Regions from separate parts of the Homo sapiens genome. Here region 2 is linked to region 1. Evidence: promoter capture Hi-C in human tissues and cell types (Jung and others, 2019). All regions are on one chromosome and are shown on one strand. The core of a region is centred on a gene start or on the middle of the fragment in contact, and the rest is flanking DNA. Distances in the headings are between cores, read along the strand shown. Region 1 holds the start of STH (saitohin). Region 2 overlaps MAPT (microtubule associated protein tau).

Region 1 (4,238 bases), core at 1,739-4,238:
CTGCGCTTCCAACCTGGCTTCCACCTGCCTAACCCAGTGGTGAGCCTGGGAATGGACCCACGGGACAGGCAGCCCCCAGGGCCTTTTCTGACCCCACCCACTCGAGTCCTGGCTTCACTCCCTTCCTTCCTTCCCAGGTGAACCTCCAAAATCAGGGGATCGCAGCGGCTACAGCAGCCCCGGCTCCCCAGGCACTCCCGGCAGCCGCTCCCGCACCCCGTCCCTTCCAACCCCACCCACCCGGGAGCCCAAGAAGGTGGCAGTGGTCCGTACTCCACCCAAGTCGCCGTCTTCCGCCAAGAGCCGCCTGCAGACAGCCCCCGTGCCCATGCCAGACCTGAAGAATGTCAAGTCCAAGATCGGCTCCACTGAGAACCTGAAGCACCAGCCGGGAGGCGGGAAGGTGAGAGTGGCTGGCTGCGCGTGGAGGTGTGGGGGGCTGCGCCTGGAGGGGTAGGGCTGTGCCTGGAAGGGTAGGGCTGCGCCTGGAGGTGCGCGGTTGAGCGTGGAGTCGTGGGACTGTGCATGGAGGTGTGGGGCTCCCCGCACCTGAGCACCCCCGCATAACACCCCAGTCCCCTCTGGACCCTCTTCAAGGAAGTTCAGTTCTTTATTGGGCTCTCCACTACACTGTGAGTGCCCTCCTCAGGCGAGAGAACGTTCTGGCTCTTCTCTTGCCCCTTCAGCCCCTGTTAATCGGACAGAGATGGCAGGGCTGTGTCTCCACGGCCGGAGGCTCTCATAGTCAGGGCACCCACAGCGGTTCCCCACCTGCCTTCTGGGCAGAATACACTGCCACCCATAGGTCAGCATCTCCACTCGTGGGCCATCTGCTTAGGTTGGGTTCCTCTGGATTCTGGGGAGATTGGGGGTTCTGTTTTGATCAGCTGATTCTTCTGGGAGCAAGTGGGTGCTCGCGAGCTCTCCAGCTTCCTAAAGGTGGAGAAGCACAGACTTCGGGGGCCTGGCCTGGATCCCTTTCCCCATTCCTGTCCCTGTGCCCCTCGTCTGGGTGCGTTAGGGCTGACATACAAAGCACCACAGTGAAAGAACAGCAGTATGCCTCCTCACTAGCCAGGTGTGGGCGGGTGGGTTTCTTCCAAGGCCTCTCTGTGGCCGTGGGTAGCCACCTCTGTCCTGCACCGCTGCAGTCTTCCCTCTGTGTGTGCTCCTGGTAGCTCTGCGCATGCTCATCTTCTTATAAGAACACCATGGCAGCTGGGCGTAGTGGCTCACGCCTATAATCCCAGCACTTTGGGAGGCTGAGGCAGGCAGATCACGAGGTCAGGAGTTCGAGACCAACCTGACCAACAGGGTGAAACCTCGTCTCTACTAAAAATACAAAAATACCTGGGCGTGGTGGTGGTGCGCGCCTATAATCCCAGCTACTCAGGAGGCTGAGGCAGGAGAATCGCTTGAACCCAGGAGGCAGAGGTTGCAGTGAGCCGAGATAGTGCCACTGCACTCCAGTTTGAGCAACAGAGCGAGACTCTGTCTCAAAACAAAATAAAACAAACCAAAAAAACCCACCATGGCTTAGGGCCCAGCCTGATGACCTCATTTTTCACTTAGTCACCTCTCTAAAGGCCCTGTCTCCAAATAGAGTCACATTCTAAGGTACGGGGGTGTTGGGGAGGGGGGTTAGGGCTTCAACATGTGAATTTGCGGGGACCACAATTCAGCCCAGGACCCCGCTCCCGCCACCCAGCACTGGGGAGCTGGGGAAGGGTGAAGAGGAGGCTGGGGGTGAGAAGGACCACAGCTCACTCTGAGGCTGCAGATGTGCTGGGCCTTCTGGGCACTGGGCCTCGGGGAGCTAGGGGGCTTTCTGGAACCCTGGGCCTGCGTGTCAGCTTGCCTCCCCCACGCAGGCGCTCTCCACACCATTGAAGTTCTTATCACTTGGGTCTGAGCCTGGGGCATTTGGACGGAGGGTGGCCACCAGTGCACATGGGCACCTTGCCTCAAACCCTGCCACCTCCCCCCACCCAGGATCCCCCCTGCCCCCGAACAAGCTTGTGAGTGCAGTGTCACATCCCATCGGGATGGAAATGGACGGTCGGGTTAAAAGGGACGCATGTGTAGACCCTGCCTCTGTGCATCAGGCCTCTTTTGAGAGTCCCTGCGTGCCAGGCGGTGCACAGAGGTGGAGAAGACTCGGCTGTGCCCCAGAGCACCTCCTCTCATCGAGGAAAGGACAGACAGTGGCTCCCCTGTGGCTGTGGGGACAAGGGCAGAGCTCCCTGGAACACAGGAGGGAGGGAAGGAAGAGAACATCTCAGAATCTCCCTCCTGATGGCAAACGATCCGGGTTAAATTAAGGTCCGGCCTTTTCCTGCTCAGGCATGTGGAGCTTGTAGTGGAAGAGGCTCTCTGGACCCTCATCCACCACAGTGGCCTGGTTAGAGACCTTGGGGAAATAACTCACAGGTGACCCAGGGCCTCTGTCCTGTACCGCAGCTGAGGGAAACTGTCCTGCGCTTCCACTGGGGACAATGCGCTCCCTCGTCTCCAGACTTTCCAGTCCTCATTCGGTTCTCGAAAGTCGCCTCCAGAAGCCCCATCTTGGGACCACCGTGACTTTCATTCTCCAGGGTGCCTGGCCTTGGTGCTGCCCAAGACCCCAGAGGGGCCCTCACTGGCCTTTCCTGCCTTTTCTCCCATTGCCCACCCATGCACCCCCATCCTGCTCCAGCACCCAGACTGCCATCCAGGATCTCCTCAAGTCACATAACAAGCAGCACCCACAAGGTGCTCCCTTCCCCCTAGCCTGAATCTGCTGCTCCCCGTCTGGGGTTCCCCGCCCATGCACCTCTGGGGGCCCCTGGGTTCTGCCATACCCTGCCCTGTGTCCCATGGTGGGGAATGTCCTTCTCTCCTTATCTCTTCCCTTCCCTTAAATCCAAGTTCAGTTGCCATCTCCTCCAGGAAGTCTTCCTGGATTCCCCTCTCTCTTCTTAAAGCCCCTGTAAACTCTGACCACACTGAGCATGTGTCTGCTGCTCCCTAGTCTGGGCCATGAGTGAGGGTGGAGGCCAAGTCTCATGCATTTTTGCAGCCCCCACAAGACTGTGCAGGTGGCCGGCCCTCATTGAATGCGGGGTTAATTTAACTCAGCCTCTGTGTGAGTGGATGATTCAGGTTGCCAGAGACAGAACCCTCAGCTTAGCATGGGAAGTAGCTTCCCTGTTGACCCTGAGTTCATCTGAGGTTGGCTTGGAAGGTGTGGGCACCATTTGGCCCAGTTCTTACAGCTCTGAAGAGAGCAGCAGGAATGGGGCTGAGCAGGGAAGACAACTTTCCATTGAAGGCCCCTTTCAGGGCCAGAACTGTCCCTCCCACCCTGCAGCTGCCCTGCCTCTGCCCATGAGGGGTGAGAGTCAGGCGACCTCATGCCAAGTGTAGAAAGGGGCAGATGGGAGCCCCAGGTTATGACGTCACCATGCTGGGTGGAGGCAGCACGTCCAAATCTACTAAAGGGTTAAAGGAGAAAGGGTGACTTGACTTTTCTTGAGATATTTTGGGGGACGAAGTGTGGAAAAGTGGCAGAGGACACAGTCACAGCCTCCCTTAAATGCCAGGAAAGCCTAGAAAAATTGTCTGAAACTAAACCTCAGCCATAACAAAGACCAACACATGAATCTCCAGGAAAAAAGAAAAAGAAAAATGTCATACAGGGTCCATGCACAAGAGCCTTTAAAATGACCCGCTGAAGGGTGTCAGGCCTCCTCCTCCTGGACTGGCCTGAAGGCTCCACGAGCTTTTGCTGAGACCTTTGGGTCCCTGTGGCCTCATGTAGTACCCAGTATGCAGTAAGTGCTCAATAAATGTTTGGCTACAAAAGAGGCAAAGCTGGCGGAGTCTGAAGAATCCCTCAACCGTGCCGGAACAGATGCTAACACCAAAGGGAAAAGAGCAGGAGCCAAGTCACGTTTGGGAACCTGCAGAGGCTGAAAACTGCCGCAGATTGCTGCAAATCATTGGGGGAAAAACGGAAAACGTCTGTTTTCCCCTTTGTGCTTTTCTCTGTTTTCTTCTTTGTGCTTTTCTCTGTTTTCAGGATTTGCTACAGTGAACATAGATTGCTTTGGGGCCCCAAATGGAATTATTTTGAAAGGAAAATGCAGATAATCAGGTGGCCGCACTGGAGCACCAGCTGGGTAGGGGTAGAGATTGCAGGCAAGGAGGAGGAGCTGGGTGGGGTGCCAGGCAGGAAGAGCCCGTAGGCCCCGCCGATC
Region 2 (4,547 bases), core at 1,166-3,665, 56 kb before region 1:
ATGTTCTGTGTGGCTCCAGGGCACTGAGCAGGACCCATTTGCCAAAGTCTCAGGGACACAGTTTCTAGCTATAGACAGAAAAATTTTCTGTCACTCAGAGGATGAAAATAGAATGAGCCCCCTTAAGAGGTAATGAGCTCCCTGTCATTGGAAGGATTCCAGAAGAGCTAGGTAACCACTTTAGGTGCTATCAAGGGGCTTTTTTCTTTAAAGTCCTTTCCAAAAGCTTCTGAGATTGCATAAACAATAGGAAGCCATCTTGGTGCTTTAACACAAACTCTCCCCAGTGATGAGGGTTGAGCCAAAGCCAGATTGGCAAGCAGAGAGGAGACTTGTGTACAAGGAGTTCCTCGAGTCAATTGCTTTTTCCTTGTTCTAGCCAGCCAGAGGGCTCCTGTTGGAAAACAGGAGACCGGAGAGGCTGAGGCCTGACCAAACCAGCTTCTGCAGGCCAGCTGGGAGGCCACAACTCCTACCTACGGGAAAACTGAAGGGCATCTCTATTTTTAGATTAGCAAAAGAAAATAAATTTAAGTTTGAGTCTCCTTTGCAACTTTTAAAAGACATCTTTATTGAGATGATCATTCACATTCTATAAAATTCCCCCACTTTGAGTTACAATTCAGTGGTTTTAGTCTTCCTTGATGATTTTGATGGTCTTTTCTTAAGGCTCTTGGAAGACCCAGAAGCCTCTCAGACACAGGTGGGTGTGGAGGGCGTAGCACAGAGGCAGACTTCTCATTTCCTGGGTCTCCCCTTTAATGACTCTCAGAGACCCCTCCTTCCCCCTGCCCCTGGCTTCTACCCCAGGGGTGTAGAGTTTTGCCATTTTCCAAGCAGAACTTCATTTCCTCTTCTGTGTCTACACTCTTTGTGCTTCTTTCTTGCCAGCTTTTTCTCCTTTGCCCGCCCTTCCTTCCTTCCTTCCCTCCCTCCCCCCTTCCCTCCTTCCCTCTTTCCCTCCTTCCCCCCTTCCACCCTTCCCCCCTTCCCCCCTTCCCTCCTTCCTTCCTTCCTTCCTGCCTGCCTTCCTTCCTTCCTTCCTTCCTTCCTTCCTTCCTTCCTTCCTTCCTTCCTGGTATGTGACTAATTTCTGTTTCAGGACATAAATGTTGTCCAGGCTGTTCTTTGGTCTTTCTGTTGGATAATGGACATTTGGCATTGAGAGAGGCTGCTTTTTCTGAAATCATGTTCTTGGGGCCCAGAACCTAGGTGTGTGCTTCTGACTTTGTTTTCTTCCTGATCCAAATTCTGATATGTCCATTTAAATTGATCTAGACCCACAGGGCACTGTGGGACAGATCCTCAGTGGAACATGACTCTGTAACGAGAGCATTTTGTTTTGTCAAAATGAGAACATATTATTGCCTTTCATCTGATTGTAAACATAATACATGTTTATAAAACAGTATAATGAGACAAAAATGTAGACACTAATAAGGGAAAATCTCCCTAATTGTATTTCTCTTCACAGAGAAAGCCCCTGTTGGGCATATATACTCTAGTTTGTTTATTTGTTTGACTACACATATATGTATTCTTTTCTTATGTATAAAAATTCTGAACATGCACATTTCTGCAACTACTGTTTTCACTTGATGATGCATGGACCTCTCTAGAGTGTACGTTTCTTCTTCCTTACAAAGCAGTTGGCTTCGCCCAGGGTGCACCAGGACACGGTTTTGGCTCTGTCCCCAGGGTGTCACGGGACCAGGGGATGATCTCACAGGGTCTGCCATCTGCCCTGCCTGGCCGGAGGCTGCATCGAGAGGGCCAAGGGGCACCACGTGTCGTGGGTACTGTCAAACAAGAGCCTTCAGAGCCTTCCACAGTCTTTCTTTTGCTTCCCAGCATTGCTTCCCCGCTGGTGGACTCTGAATCTAGAACTAGCTCCAGGCGCCTCTCCAAATTCAGACGGGAGCTGGGGCACTATTATAATGCAAATCTAGGCAAAGCCCTCCCAATACCAGGATCCAGAATGGGGTGGGGCCCTTTGCCCTGAAAAGCTGTTTAGTTTGAAAATACAAACAGGAGACAGAAAAGTTTGGCTAAATTAATGGATAAAGTTTTAACGATGGTAACCATAGTAGGGTTCATCGACAGCCAGCGATGGTTCTGAACACTTGACATGTATTAACTCACCTAATCCCCACATTTTACAGACAATGCAAAGGAGGCTCTGGGAGGTTGAGTGACTTGCCCCAAAGTCGCACAGCTCCTAAGTGAAGGATTCGGAGTGGACTCCAGGCAGCCTGGTCTGACTCCCTGCACTGCGCTGTGCTTATCTCTGGCCCCAATGCCGCCATGCAGAAGTGTCTGGGGGCACTTTGTCTCTGTCAGACAGAATTCGGAGATGTGTATGCTTGCCCTGGTATGGCACTTCTCTTTTTTTGAGACAGAATCTCACTCTGTCACCCTGGCTGGAGTGCAGTGGCATGATCTCAGCTCACTGCAACCTCCGCCTCCCAGGTTCAAGCAATTCTTGTGCCTCAGCCTCCCAAGTAGCTGGGATTATAGATGTGCACCATCGTGCCTAGCTAAATTTTTGTACTTTTAGTAAAGATGTTGTTTTGCTGTGTTGGCCAAGCTGATCTCGAACTTTTGGCCTCAAGTGATCTGCCTACCTCAGCCTCCCAAAGTGCTGGGATTACAGGCATGAGCCACCATGCCTGGCAGTGTGGCACTTCTTACGTGTGTTCAGCGGACACTGTTTATCTTCTGTCCCTCCAAGACGGTGCTGAGCTCAGGTCGTTCATTACTGGCAGACAACTGCTGATTTCCAACAGAATTGCCATCCTCTTCTCCCCTGCGACTTTCAGAGTGTGACCTCAGACTCAAAAATTAGAAGTGAAAACATCTTAAAAACTATCACCTTTTCTTCCTAATCCTCCTCTCCCCTCCCTGTCTTCCTTGTTGTCCCCATCTAATGAACTATCATGGCAAAAAGAGCCCATTTCTGGTCATTTTCTGTGGCCTTTCAAACTCCCACCTACCCCACTGCTCCTGGGTGCATTACCCGAAAGCTGAGACTTCAGTGCAGAAAGTGCCAGGCCCTCTGTCCCCCCAGATCGCCTTCCTTGTCTTCCCTGTGCTTGCCTGTCACATTGTGTGGGTTCCAGCGCTGGAAGGAATGAGGAACAGATTCTCTGGTTCTCCTTTTGAAGTTTACCTTCGCTCCACCACTTCTGAGACCTTCCCGGAAGTTGCCCCTTGTTTCTCTCCTCTCCAGGGCTGCCCCAGAGCTGCCTCTCACCTCTTCCTGCTGTCACCCCACCACCATCAGGGCAGAAGTTGGGACAAAGCCTCTCCTACTGGCTCCTGCTTTTCTCCCTTAGGTCCAGCCTCCTCTTCTCCATCTTCAGGAGTCTCCTTCTCCACTCACACGTCATGACTTCAGCACCTCGCATCAGTCCAGAATATGACTGCTTGTTCAAGTGCCACCTTTCTCATGCATTTTTTTCTAGTGACAATCACAGCCACCCTGTGGGGCAGGAGTGTCATCATCCCCATGTTTCAAATGAAGAATTGCAGTTCAGAGAGGGCAAGTGACTGGCCCAGCCTCAACAGCTAGCCAGTGGACCCCACCAGGGCTTCTGACTCCAGTCCGGGTTCCCTTTCCACCCAAATCCATGGAGGGAGCTGAGCCGAGAACAGGTGTCCTTCAGGAAGACGTGAAGCCAAAGCCTCCACCTCCAAACTCAGGGGCCCAGGGAGTCCAGGCACCCATCCACTCACAAGGCTGGATATGGTGCATTCCAGGAGAGGGGTTGGGGGCGAGTGGCCTCTCTGTGTACCCGTGGGGATAGATGCGCAAGTGGCATCGCCACATCGTGAGTCCTGGCTTCATGGGTGAGCTCCAGGTCCAACGAGAAGCCAAGCAGGGGGCCCTTCAAGCTCAGCTTTGGGCCCGGGTCGGGGTACAGGGTAGAGCGGGCCTCCCCAGCCCCTGCCATGAGGCCAAGGCAGTGCATCGTTCGCAGCGTACATTCAGAAACCAAAGCCTAGGAGCTGGTTATCATTCCGGTTTACAGCTGATGGAAGAGCAGGTGCTTCCGAGAACCCACAGTGCTCTTTGGCCAGTGACCCAAGGGTGCCTCTGAGAGGCCTCGCAGCACCCGGAGGTGCTGCTGAGGCAACGCCCTGACTGTAAGAAGGACCATTCATCCTCAGAGAGTGGCCGTGATGCTGCTGCGACAGTCCCACCATCCCTCCCGACTCTCACTCCCAACAGACTTCCCACTGTAAAGCTGAACTCTCCAGCAAATCACCTCTCGCCAGACTCTCTCCTCACTCTCTCTGGGTCCACTAGAGGTTCCTCAGCCTCTCTTTGCCTTGGTTTTCCCAGCTGTAAAATGGAGCAAAGAGGGCCTATGTACCCACAAAGGTGTGGTTGGAGCGACTCCTCCTACATTAGGGCCTCGAGTGGGGCTTCATGATTGGTTGGTGGAGGTCTCCAAACCCACCCAGTGCCACCGAAGGCTGAGACTGCAGATGCAATGCCACAGGTGTCCTTCCTCAGCCTGGGCAGCTGAACATCATGTGTAAAA

What was found. Contacts are between HindIII fragments. The study calls those that stand out against the background at their distance.
Region 2: a contact is called between a fragment that was not itself captured here and the fragment with the promoter of STH in region 1, in 1 of the 25 tissues and cell types used here (dorsolateral prefrontal cortex).

The regions. Positions count from the first base shown.
Region 1 is chr17:45,996,262-46,000,499 of GRCh38, forward strand. It overlaps STH (saitohin), which reads left to right and starts at 2,989. Exons shown (of 1, transcript NM_001007532.3): 1 at 2,989-3,433. The coding sequence starts at 3,019. The coding sequence ends at 3,405. MAPT (microtubule associated protein tau) reads left to right here. Exons shown (of 13, transcript NM_001377265.1): 9 at 138-403. The HindIII fragment of the contact is 3,441 bases long and covers 491-3,931 here.
Region 2 is chr17:45,940,680-45,945,226 of GRCh38, forward strand. All of the region lies in intron 1 of MAPT (microtubule associated protein tau), which reads left to right. Among named protein-coding and RNA genes, the nearest start is that of MAPT-IT1, 47 kb to the left of the region's middle. RefSeq lists an enhancer at 1,732-2,232. The HindIII fragment of the contact is 5,172 bases long and covers 1-4,547 here.